3 separate regions of the Homo sapiens genome follow, and regions 2 and 3 are each linked to region 1. The links are contacts of gene promoters, found by promoter capture Hi-C in blood cells and fetal thymus (Javierre and others, 2016). All regions are on one chromosome and are shown on one strand. The core of a region is centred on a gene start or on the middle of the fragment in contact, and the rest is flanking DNA. Distances in the headings are between cores, read along the strand shown.

The links. Contacts are between HindIII fragments. The CHiCAGO score rates a contact against its expected background, and 5 or more counts as called.
Region 2: a fragment that was not itself captured here is called in contact with the fragment with the promoter of CEP152 in region 1 in 1 of 17 cell types (total B cells); the score reaches 5.8 in total B cells.
Region 3: a contact is called between a fragment that was not itself captured here and the fragment with the promoter of CEP152 in region 1, in 5 of 17 cell types (non-activated CD4 T cells, naive CD8 T cells, total CD8 T cells and 2 more). The highest score is 11.4, in non-activated CD4 T cells.

What each region holds. Positions count from the first base shown.
Region 1 is chr15:48,809,122-48,813,224 of GRCh38, reverse strand. It overlaps CEP152 (centrosomal protein 152), which reads left to right and starts at 2,156. Exons shown (of 27, transcript NM_001194998.2): 1 at 2,156-2,264. It overlaps LOC124903487 (a long non-coding RNA gene), which reads right to left and starts at 2,527. Exons shown (of 2, transcript XR_007064626.1): 1 at 2,418-2,527; 2 at 1,316-2,294. RefSeq lists enhancers at 1,727-1,786, 2,445-3,006 and a silencer at 1,962-2,152. The HindIII fragment of the contact is 4,992 bases long and covers 2,025-4,103 here.
Region 2 is chr15:50,937,334-50,941,436 of GRCh38, reverse strand. The region is part of intron 8 of AP4E1 (adaptor related protein complex 4 subunit epsilon 1); the gene reads right to left. Among named protein-coding and RNA genes, the nearest start is that of AP4E1, 31 kb to the right of the region's middle. The HindIII fragment of the contact is 2,966 bases long and covers 921-3,886 here.
Region 3 is chr15:50,900,832-50,904,934 of GRCh38, reverse strand. No RefSeq gene overlaps it. Among named protein-coding and RNA genes, the nearest start is that of AP4E1, 5.8 kb to the left of the region's middle. The HindIII fragment of the contact is 4,281 bases long and covers 1-4,103 here.

The DNA.
Region 1 (4,103 bases), core at 907-3,406:
AATTATTGCCTATTCTACTCTTATTACACTTAGTAAACAATTTTTATTATTATTTATCTTTCTACGTAAGCATCTTGTAACTCAGAGTGTTGGTACCTTGAGCATAGGGGTCCTACCCTGCACCTAGGCCAGGACTTAAACAGGATAGGTGGTCAAAGAAATTTAGTTGAATATATCCATAACTCCACCAAAAACCATTTTTAGAGGCATGGCAGGATGGGAGGTTGATTTATTCTTTATTTTCCCTCTTTGTCACGTATATGCTAGTCTCACTAAAATATTTTGTATGTAGTGATGAGCTCTGGGTTTGGAGATAAAGGACCTGGTTTCAGATTCTGTCTGCCTTGTATTAGCTGTGTAGCCTTGGACAAGTCATTTAATTTATTTTTATGTAAGTTTCTTCAACTGGAAAATGGGTAGGAATACCTGTCCTAACCCCCCACAGTGTTGTAGTGAGAACCAAATGAGATGATGCTTGTGAAAGAATTTACCAATCTGTAAAGCACTGTGTAATGGATTATAAACACTGCCTCCTCATGTGCTTACCCTGACACGTTTTATGCTTTCATCCTTCTAAGAAGCAGTTGTTTGTGCATGGGGATCACCTGGCATTCTTGCTGCAGCACTCCATCATAACCCTCAGCACAGAATGCAACATACAGTTTGCCAATCGACTTCAGTGGGATGTGAAAAGTGAAAAGTGCATTTAATTCTCACTAAGATGCCTTGGCTCAGATTCAACAAATGCCATTTACTTGAAGGCCTTTTATTTGCTTTTTCTGCCTGCCCCCCTGCCAAAATCTTCATCTATTTGTTCATTTATTCATTTACTCATTTAACATAATTGTTTTGAGTGCCTACCAGGGTCATGTTAGACACCCAAGAAGTAAAGTGAGTACTTCAAGATATTCACGTTGTACTGAGTGTAAGACACACAAAAACTTACAGTAGATAAAAGAACTATAATAGGATATATAGGATACACTGTGTACAGAGGTAGGAAAGATCATTTTTGCGAAGTGAGGGAGTGTGTGTCATGAAAGGCTTCAAAGGAGGTGCTAGTCTGTCTTCAAAACTAAGTAGCAGGAGAAGGTAGAGGCGATGCAGGTGAAAGAAACAGCTTTCACAGCAGGTGAAAGAAAAAAAGCGCTCTGGGAACCATTGTTAGCTCAGGCTGTGATTTCGTTCATTCTATTACAGTGGGTTAAATTACCTGTTGTTTGCCAAACCCTATACCAGTTTATGGGGTTACAGGGGTCAGTGTAGGCATCATGGGGGCGGACGGTGAAGTAGCAAAGGAAAACCAGCCACAGTATGAAGAGCCTCGAACAACCATTTTACTCCGTGCCAGTACACATGGGAAAGGGTTGAAAGGATATGTGAACCTGCCGCCACCAATTCCTTGATTATTCACTGGAACCCTTTCAGCCAGAGAAGATAGACACAGTACTGGGCTTTACTGAGGACTGGGTGGCGCTGTCTTTAGGGGCAGGTTAATAATATACACCTAAGTGACAAGAACACTCACACCCGAGGAAATTAGAGTAGTAAATAGACACGTGGAAAAATGTGCCATCTTATCAGTAATTAAAGAAGCAAAAATGTAAACAAAGCGGCACCTAGTAAGGTAGAAGACAAAGCAAAATATCTAAGGCTGTTAAATAATGGGGAAGCAGGCGCCTTAGAAAACAAGGGCAAATGTAAAAAACCTCTAAGGCAAGAGTTCGGTGGGGAATCTGCGGGATTCTGTGTGCTGAAGCGCAGGAGGCACGAGTCACCTTTGCAGTCTCCGGTACCAAACGGGCAAGGGGTCCCCGTAAGACTGCTGCACCCTGGCCGAAGGTAGCGGGTGAAGCGCCTCGGCGTCTCTAGGCAACCGATCAGCCCGCCCACTCCGGGGTGACTTCCTCGTAATTGGCTCTCGAATCCACCAATGGGCGCACAGGGGGAGCTTCCCGCCACCTCTGGCGCCCGCTTTCAAACAGCCGTACTTTGCAACTGCAGGTGGACTTCTCAACCAAGCTTGAGGAAGGCGGAGACTTCTGCCTCCTCGCTCTGCCCTGAGCTGGCACGGCTCCGCCCACCGGGCGAGCTTCTAGTCGGCGATTGAAGGATGCGAGTGCTCCTTAAGGGCCTCCGCCCCGTGAGTTCGGTTGTGACTAGGAAGGAGCTAGTGGACTAGAGCCAGGGTAAGGGGATCTGCTAGAAGTTGGTCTTCCGCCAGGACTAGAGTTTCCTCGCGGTAACAGCCTCCGTGGCCTCCGGTAAGTTCTGATTCACGGGTGAGCTTGGACCTGGGGTTAGAGGAGTTGCGGGGTCCTCGGGATGCTGGCTGAGGGTTCCTGGGGGGGCTGACCTGCCCCCTCCCCAAATCCCGCGGTGGTGGACTGCCCGCATGTTGCGGGCTCAGCTTTTACCTTAACGTGTCATTTAGACCTCTTCATTCCTCCAATATCCTACTTAGAAGTGACATATGGGAAGCCCGCCTCGTTTCCAGGCTGCTGGGGTCGCCCTGAGACCCTACTCTGCGGACCCCGCCTTGGTCACCCTGGCGTCACGCCTGGCTCACAGTAGGTGCTCTGTGCACGTGTGTTGACCGAGTACAAGTGACGCTGGCACCCGAAGCCAGTAGCCCCGGGCATCCTGGGCCCCGTGCGGCTTTGGTCATGTTTGTAGTGCCGTAGCTGACGCCAAACAGTTCCTCAAGGTCATTCGCTCAGCCTGTGGATGCTTATTGTGTATTAGCATTACTCGCTCCGCCCTCTGGGCAACTTGAATCAATTTGTCCAAAGTGCTGTTATTAGCACTGATCACAAGATGTTGTGATCATTTGTTTATATGTCTATTTTCTTTCCCTTCATCGTGTCCTGTTAAACTTTGTAATCTTGAACAGTGCTTGGTAAATTGTCGAATGAATGAATAAGGTGTCTCCACCAGGTGTTGCAAGTCTAAACCGGGCTATGTGCTCTGGCTATTTCCATTCTAGAAGGCGAGTTATGTCAGCAAGTAAGTAGAATTTCCCAACTCCAAGTGCAGTTCTTAGAAACCCCTTTTGTGGGGGTTTATAACCCTTCCTATATCGTAGTCATGAACTTGAGTCTGATTTAAGCCTATTATCACCTTATACCTTCATAGTGCGTGACAATGAACATGCACTCCCTAGACAGGTGAATGCACTCAACTAAAGAGAAGCTGAAGTTGAAGCCATAAGAAAAGCATAAGAAATACAGTCTGAAAGTGCAAAGGAGTGGCCAGCTCCATGGGGGAACAGGCTTGGGAGGGCATCTTGAAGGAGGGTGGCATTTTTGTTCCATAGGAGGTTGCATTATTAGAAGTGACATTTCTCATAGGCTGCACATTCACCTTTTCTCAGATATGCGGAATCCTCTTTATTCCCTAAACCTCTTCGGTAGCTGGCAGACTCCTATTCATCAGTAATAATGTCATAATAGTAATAAAACTACAATGTATTGATTGGTACATAGTGCTAATTACTTTACATGTAGTATCTTGTGAATCCTCAGAATCAATCTTTGAAGTAGGTATTATTTTTACCCCCATTTCTTTAACGTAGAAGCAGAAACAGTTTGCTCAAGATTGCACTGCTGATAAATAGAAGAGCCAGAATTGAGCCCAGGTTGTCTGAATGAGTGCCCTCATTCTTAGAACCACTTATAGCCATATTGTGTCCTTTAAGATTTATTTCTAATCTAAAAGCTCTTTTTTTTCTGTAAAACTTCTCTAAACTATCCTTTCTTCTTAGGAAAAGTAATTTGTGCTTTGTACTTTCATCTACTACGGAATTTATTACAATATGTTATTGTAACTGTTTATATCAGTGGCTCTATCTAAGAGAGGGTGAGCAGAGACAGTGAGCTCCTCATGGCTGGTACCATGTCTTAGGTGCATCTAGGATATGATCTGGAACACAGTGGGTATTCAATAAAATTTTATTGAAGTAATGAATTCGTATAAGGTAACATGCCTATATCATATTCAGTCAACAAATATTTGTTATGTACCCACCATGTGCAAGCAGGCAGATACATTTTAATTCTGCCTTCAGGGTGCTTATAGTTTATTAGATGAAGCAAAAACAATGC
Region 2 (4,103 bases), core at 1,154-3,653, 2.1 Mb before region 1:
AAAAGAAACATAAAAATGGCAGGTATCATGGTAAGGTATAACAAAACAATGTATTTGTGTAGAACTTGTAATAAAACTAATTGGAAAGTCCATTTTAGTCAGAAATCTTATTTATGGACTTTTCACAGAAACAAACGCTACTACTTTCAGGCTTACCCAGTTACTAGGATTAGGTTACCACAATACAATGTTCAAAAAATTATATTTACTGGTAATAATTATGCATTTATTAATGGAACAAGTATTTACTGAACACCTCCCATGTGCCAGGCATGGTTTCAGTACTATGAATATAGCAGTGAACAAAACAGATGGAAAAAAACATCCTGCCCTCAAGGAGTTCACATTCTAATGGAAACATCAATAACAGATTCATTATTCCTATATAAAAAGATATTTCCCACGTTCCTTTAATGCTTTAAAATGGTTTATTCTCAAATAGTTTCGACCATTTACGTGCCAAAATTGCGTATGTAGTTTATTTCAACATAATCATTTTATAGGATGATCCAGTATTTATTTCAAAGATACAGTCCCTACTCATAAATCTTCAAACTATTCTTTAAAATAACCTCAAAGCACATAAAATAATCTACTGGACATCTTGATAGCATTCAAATTTTATTTTCTGATACATTCGAAAGTCTCATCACTATGACAGATGATCAAAGTGAATGATCAAAATGGACACTAAAGTTTTTTTCAAATTATTTGAAAAAGCATGAGTCATGCGGTTGGAGCTTTGCCATGATAAAGAAAAATCACTGAAAGGACATTAAGTCTTATGTGTTCTATGGAATCATAGTATCAGAAGTGTGACACAGTGAAGGTACAGAATCAACACTTAAAAACTGTTCTAGTACAAGTTGAAGTATATCAAGTGTCCTGATACAATCACTCCTTCTCTATTTCCAAAAGCTTAAAATATAACCCGACATTCTCTTTATGTACAAAATATATTCTGAATATTCAGCTAGCTATGTTTTACACTATGTTGCCTATCGATTAATGCACAAATAAATTTTGTGGAAAAAACTTCTATAAACCTCTGTCTTTTTCTCAAATTTACAAGGAAAGAAAAGACAAAAAAAAATTTTAAACCTCTTCTATAACAGAGACAGAAAAAAAATCAGATATATTAATTTTTCTTTAAGAAAGGAACTGACTTTAAATGAAAACTACAGAGTAAGTTGGCTGAACCTAAAGAGACTTTGTATATTCAGATGCTATGCTATAAAATGTCTTTACTCTGTGCTGTGAAAAAAGTTCGCTTTATGATTCATGAACTAGACAAACTAAACAAAGAGAACCTTAGTCAATTGACTAATAAGATAAGGCAGGAATGGAGAAACTGCCACTAAATCCAGCCTTCAGCCTATTTTTAAAATGCCACTAAATCCAGCCTTCAGCCTATTTTTATAGGCCTGTGAACTAAAGAAAGATTTTTACATTTTTAAAAGGCTGTAAAAAACAAAACAAAAAGCAAAGGAGAATATGCGACAGAAACCTCCATGACCTGCAAAGCCTAAAATATTTACTATCTGGCCCTCTTTTCAGAAAAAGTTTGCTGAACTGTGAACTACCATGACAGTCCTAAGATTTCAAATGATGATATTCCATTTTCCAACATAACTGACACATTTTTCATTACGGCTTCCTACCATTAAGAACTCTCTTGCTATTAAATTGTTTTACTAACAAAAGCCTGCCATTACCCATCCAAAATTTAAACGTTTATATTCAGATGCTCATAAAGTTTCTGGGGTGCCAACATGGGAAAAAAAATAATAGTTCAAAAACAGCACTTATTTTTAGTTTCCTTAGGCATAATTGAGCTGAAAATGAATTAAATTGATTTTTAAATTATTTTCTCACCCAGAGCTAAGTCATTTTATTCTCCAACTCTACAAATATCTAAGTATAAGTTCATAATTGAAAGAGCAGCCACTCTGCTGTCTCCTCTCTGTGGTGGTGAAGTAAAATACAACTGAGAATTTCTTTTTTTTTTTTTGAGATGCAGTCTGCAACCTCCACCCCCCAGGTTCAAGTGATTCTCCTGCCTTGGCCTCCCAAGTAGCTGGCAGTACAAGCGTGCACCATCATGGCCAGCTAATTTTTGTATTTTTAGTAGAGACAGGGTTTCACCATGTTGGCCAGGCTGGTTTTGAACTCCTAACCTCAAGTGATCTGCCCAACTCAGCCTCCCAAAGTGCTGGGATTACAGGCATGAGCCACCTTGCCCGGCCACAACTGAGGGTTTCTAAACTTAAAAATACAACATGGAACTTGGTTACTCTTCAGTACTCTTGGTTACTCTCTTGGTACTAATTAAAATGCTATAAAGCATAAATTACTAAATTAAAAATTAATAATGTTCCACCATTTATGACACTGCAGTTTCATCATAGATATTTTGGGTTGGATTATGTATGCTCAAACAAAATGTGAAGTTCTTCTGACACCTTATCCCTCAGAATAGAGTTTACTCTCACTTTAATTAAGTTAAATAAGTATCTACTGACATTATTCTGGCAGGAGAGAGGAGGTATCACCCAATGGGAATGGAATCCAGGCTCTCTACTCTGTCTCCTTTGATACCTGGGGATGGAGAGGCTCCTGGTTATTGTTGGAGGGAGTATCAACTGATTCTACCCTGCCTGGGAGAGAGAGGGGTACCTCATTACTGCTTCCTTTGTGGCCTCCAGTGACACTATGAGGGAGTGGCCTCATTATCGCTGATCAGGAGTGGAAGTTCTGACTGTCCACCAGGCTTTCTCTAACACCCACGCCTCCGAACCCTGGCCACAAAGAGGGGAAAATTACCTCTTTACTCCCTACTTCCAGATGGGAAAAATCCAGACTTCCCAAGTCACCTCTGACAGCGTAAGGAAGGGGCCTTCCTTATCACCTGGCATCAATGAAATTCCAGCTGTCTCTTGGGCTTCTGTCACCACTCTAGTGGGGGGTTAGGGAGGGTGTGTTGGGGCATGTCATTATACCTGGTGATGATGGAAATCTTGGCTTTTTCCTCAGCCTTTGCTGGAGGGGATGGGTCCACAGTTTTTTCCTATGCTTGGAAGGAATAGAGGGGTTATCATCTAAAAGTTTTCTACCTTGCTAATTTCCCTTTTCTTCTTGGTCCTTTGGTGAGAGAGGGCAGGCTTTTCTGGGGGTGTTTTTGTCTGCGTCTGTTGGCATTTCCAGACTGCTGGCTCTTCAGTACCCAGTCTGGGGTACCCGAGGCAAAAAGAAAACCCAGGGTACACACCACCGTGTCTGTTTCTTTCCTTGTGTCCTGAGGTCTCTAACCAGCCTGACTTGTTCTCCACCTTCCTGAGTCTTATGTTTCTTATACATAGTATCCAAGGGTTTTAGGTGAAATTAGTGAGAAAAAAAACGGAAAAGTACTTCTATCTACCTACTTTTGATGGCTTTTGTCCCTTGTACTCCATTTTATATAATTTTCTCAATTTACTAATTTACTAAAAATGATATTCTCATGTTATCAGTACCTTATCCAAAAACCTTCCATACCTCCGGATTTACAAATCCAAACTCATTTGGCTGTTGTGACAGGTCCTCCACAATACCGCCCTTCCACTGCTCCCCACCATAAATTATCCTTTCAGACTGGTGAGACATTGTCTCTGAAACTGTTTTTAAATAGCCCCATGTCTACACCTTCTCTCATGTTCCCTCCACCTAAAAGCCCCTTCAATCTCCCTTCTGCCTATCTAAATCTTATCTACCTTTCAGGGTCCTATCACATCAGTAAATCCCTATCTGTGCCCTCAGGCCCTTAATGATCTCTACTTCCTCGGAACTCCTACAATACTTATTTCCCTGAACCATCCCTTCACATTCTGCCTTACACTGGTATTAAGCTTTCATGAACAAGTTATCTTTCCACTATATTGTGAATTTCTTAAAGACAAAGGTCATATATTATACTTCTTCATATCCTATACACCACTTTATACAATGCCTGGCACATAGCAGATATTCAATAGATGTCTTTAATGTAATTTATTTCTTGATTAGACACTAAATTGTAATAATAGAGCTTCCATAAAAATAAAATATAGAAAGTACTAATACTGAAA
Region 3 (4,103 bases), core at 740-3,239, 2.1 Mb before region 1:
GTGCTACTTTCCAAAGATGCAATAACTCACCAAATTAGACATTTAGTTGCAGGCCAGGCGAGGTGGCTCATGCCTGTAATCCCTGAATTTTGGGAGGCCAAGGCAGGCGGATAACTTGAGATCAGGAGTTTGAGACCAACCTGGCCAATATGGTGAAACCCTGTCTCTACTAAAAATACAAAAAAAAAAAATTAGCTGGGCATGGTGGTACATGCCTGTAATCCCAGTTATTCGGGAGGCTGAGGCTGGAGAATCACTTGAACCTGGGAGGCAGAGGTTACAGTGAGCTGAGATGGTGCCACGGCACTCCAGCCTGGACAACAGAGCAAGACTGTCTCAAAAAAAAGAAAGAAATTTAGTTGCAAATATAAAGACTGAGTTACTATGTCATCTGCAGAATTATAATTCCTTTAAAATGGACATAATTATTCATGTAGCTGGACTTGTTGCTTTGCTTATACCCATCCAGTGTCAGCACCAACTAATTCTTGAAGATCCTCTTTTACATAAATCTTGACAAGAAACACAAGTGGTGATGAAATAATGTATTGAACAACTTCTTTGAATCTCATAGTTTATCCTGGAACAATACACTCAATTTTTTTTAAGTCAGTTTCACTTAAGAATATCCTTGATGAAGCAGTAAGAATTCTTAATTTTATTAAATTTCAGTCTTTGAGTGCACTTTTTAAAAAATTTTTTTTGTGACAAAATGGGAAGTACTCATAAAGTACAACCTCATAAAGTATAAACTCTTAAATCCTGAGGCTTTTCTTTTGGCCGGGTGTGGTGGCTCAGGCCTATAATCCCAGCACTTTGGGAGGCTGAGGCGGGCAGAGCACCTGAGGTCAGGGGTTCGAAACCAGCCTGGCCAACGTGGTGAAACCCCATCTCTACTAAAAATGCAAAATTACCTGCGCGTGGTGGCACATGCCTGTAATCCCAGCTACTTGGGAGGCTGAGGCAGGAGAATCACTTGAACCCGGGAGGCGGAGGTTGCAGTGAGCTGAGATCGTGCCATTGCACTTCAACCTGGGCAACAAGAGCGAAACTCCGTCTCAAAAAAAAAAAAAAGAAAAAGAAAAAATTCTTGAGGCATAACTGAGATAAGATAGTTTCTCAAGGAAAAGCATTTGTATCATTGTTTAACTTGAAAGCTGAACCGGCCTGGCACAGTGGCTCATGCTTGTAATGCCAGCACTTTGGGAGGCCAAGGCGGGGGGATCACGAGGTCAGGAGATCAATACCATCCTAGTTAACACGGTGCAAAACCCGTCTCTACCAAAAATACAAAAAATTAGCCGGGCGTGGTGGCGGGCGCCTGTAGTCCCAGCGATTCTGGAGGCTGAGGCAGGAGAATGGCGTGAACCTGGGAGGCGGAGCTTGCAGTGAGCCTAGATCACGCCACTGCACTCCAGCCTGGGCGACAGAGTGAGACTCCGTCTCAAAAAAAGAAAAGAGAAGGCCGGGCGCGGTGGCTCACGCCTGTAATCCCAGCACTTTGGGAGGCCGAGACGGACGGATCACGAGGTCAGGAGATCGAGACCATCCTGGCTAACACGGTGAAACCCCGTCTCTACTAAAAATACAAAAATTAGCCGGGCATGGTGGCGCGCGCCTGTAGTCCCAGCTACACGGGAGGCTGAGGCAGGAGAATGGCGTGAACCCGGGAGGCGGAGCTTGCAGTGAGTCGAGATCGCGCCACTGTACTCCATCCTGGGCGACAGAGCGAAACTACGTCTCAGAAAAAAAAAAGAAAAGAGAAAGCTGAACCAACCACTTTTTTTCATGGAACACCATTTTTAGTTGAAAGCGATAAACAGTAGTTTTCTTGAAAATGAACAGTGAGTCTTTCAGTTGTAGGGAAAGAAAAAAATCTTTTTCTCTTACCCTTCTAAGTTCTTGGCTGGGTCCCCTGTGAAAAAAACAAGCAAGTTTATTAAAATGTATGGAGCATATAACATAGGAATAACTAGAAATGAGTAATTCAAAGAAGGTAAAACTCTGGCTTATATAGCATCTTTAACAAAATACAATAAACTTATAGAGAAATGACAGGACAAAGGAAAGCAGTTTTAGTCTTCCAGGGCTGGGAATCTTGGGGAAGGAAAATATATGGAAAGAAACTAATGAAGTAAGGTTTGTGTGCACATTCCTCTGGTGCCACCTCTGGGCTAGTAAGATGGTAGAGTTGCCTCCAGTAAAGGAAGTTGTATCCTGCCTTTAAACAGAAAAGGAGGAGGGTAGAGAGAGTGTTTCCTGCCTTTGCTGCTGCTTAATTGCCTTCAGCTCAAAATAATATTCATGTCAAATAGGAATATTTTGGGGTGACAGAGTCTGGTTTCCTTCACACTTCAAGGAAGATAACTGACAATATTTGTTGCCACTGATAAATTCAGGCTTTCAAGTGAAAACTAAAATTTTGAAAAATGTTTGTCTACTACAATTTTAATAATTTCCAGATACATAAAGACCATTCTGATAAATTGGTGATTATGTTAATGAATTTTTTATATTGTATAATTAAATGTGCCAACATTTGAAAGATCTCCATAACTCAATGAACCAATATTTTCCAAATGATCAATGCACAATGTTATAAAATTATGTACCAGCAAAACATCCACTTAAAGCAAATAGTGTAACCATAATAGGGCCCTTCGCCCAATATGTGACAAGTTAATATGCCAAGACACCAGGTTGTAGCAGAGAAAGAGGTTTAATTGTAGGGCTGCCAGATGAGGAGATGGGAGAAAACCTCAAATCCATTTCCCCAAGGAATGTGGAGCTAGGGATTTTAAAGGTTTGGGAGTAGGCCAAAGTGTAGAGATTGATCAGAGTGCAGGGTGAAGCCATGGGACAGGGAGATGTTATTGATTCCGTTCCTCTCTGGGGGTTTTTAAACTGGTTGGCATCAGCTGTTCAGGTGGAATTCAGGATCTGCTTAAGCAGTTCTTAAACCCTTTATGATTCTAATGTCAGAGATCCTATCTATCTTAAAAGCCCTGGCCAGGCGCGGTGGCTCACATCTGTAATCCTAGCACTTTGGGAGTCCGTGCCAAGGCAGACAGATCACTTGAGGTCAGGAGTTTGAGGCCAGCCAGGCCAACATGGTGAAACCCCGTCTCTACCAAAAACACAAAAATTAGTTGAGTGGGCCAGGTGCGGTGGTTCATGCCTGTAATCCCAGCACTTTGGGCCAAGGCGGGCAAATCACCTGAGGTCAGGAGTTCGAGATCAGCCTGGCCAACATGGTGAAACCCTGTCTCTACTAAAAATACAAAAATCAGCTAGGCGTGGTGGCAGGTGCCTGTAATCGCAGCTATTCGGGAGGCTGAGGCAGGAGAATCGCTTGAACCCAGGAGGCAGAGGTTGCAGTGAGCCAAGATTGCATCACTGCATTCCAGCCTGGGTGACAGAGAGAGACTCCATCTCAAAAAAAAAAAAAAAAAAAAGCCTAATGTCAGAAATTCTGTCAATAGGAACAATGGGAACGCAAATGGTCTCTATGTAGTGTAACCTGACTTTTGGTTACAAGGAAGTGGGTCAGAGTGCAGCCTGATTAATGCTCAATTATAACTATATTTCCTTCCAGAATTCTTGTTAACCCTTTGAGGACAGCTTCAATAGAATTATGATTTCAATGTAACCTAGTAAAAAAGGTTCCCTGATGGTTTCAGATTCCACATTGCAACAACTTTTTAAAAACTACTTACTGCTTTTAGTGTTGGATCTAAGAAGAATATCTACAATTATTTGAAAGGGATTTTTCCCCAACTACTTTCTGTATGTGACCAGGTTTTCCTCATAAACTTCAACAAAAAAGAAAAACCTTGTGGTAGGCTGATAATGACTTCCAAAGATGTCCGTGTTCTAATCCCTGGAATTTGTGTTACCTCGTGGTAAAACTTTTACAGATGAGATGAAGTTAAGGATCTTTAGGTAAAGAGATTATCATGGATTACCTGAGTGGATTATTGATGTTATCTCAAGCATCCTGTTAAGAGAGAAGGGAGATTAGCCACCCAACACAGAAGTGAAATTGATGTGAAGATGAAGGCAGAGATTAGTGTGATGCCTCTAAAAGTCAAGCAATGCCAGCA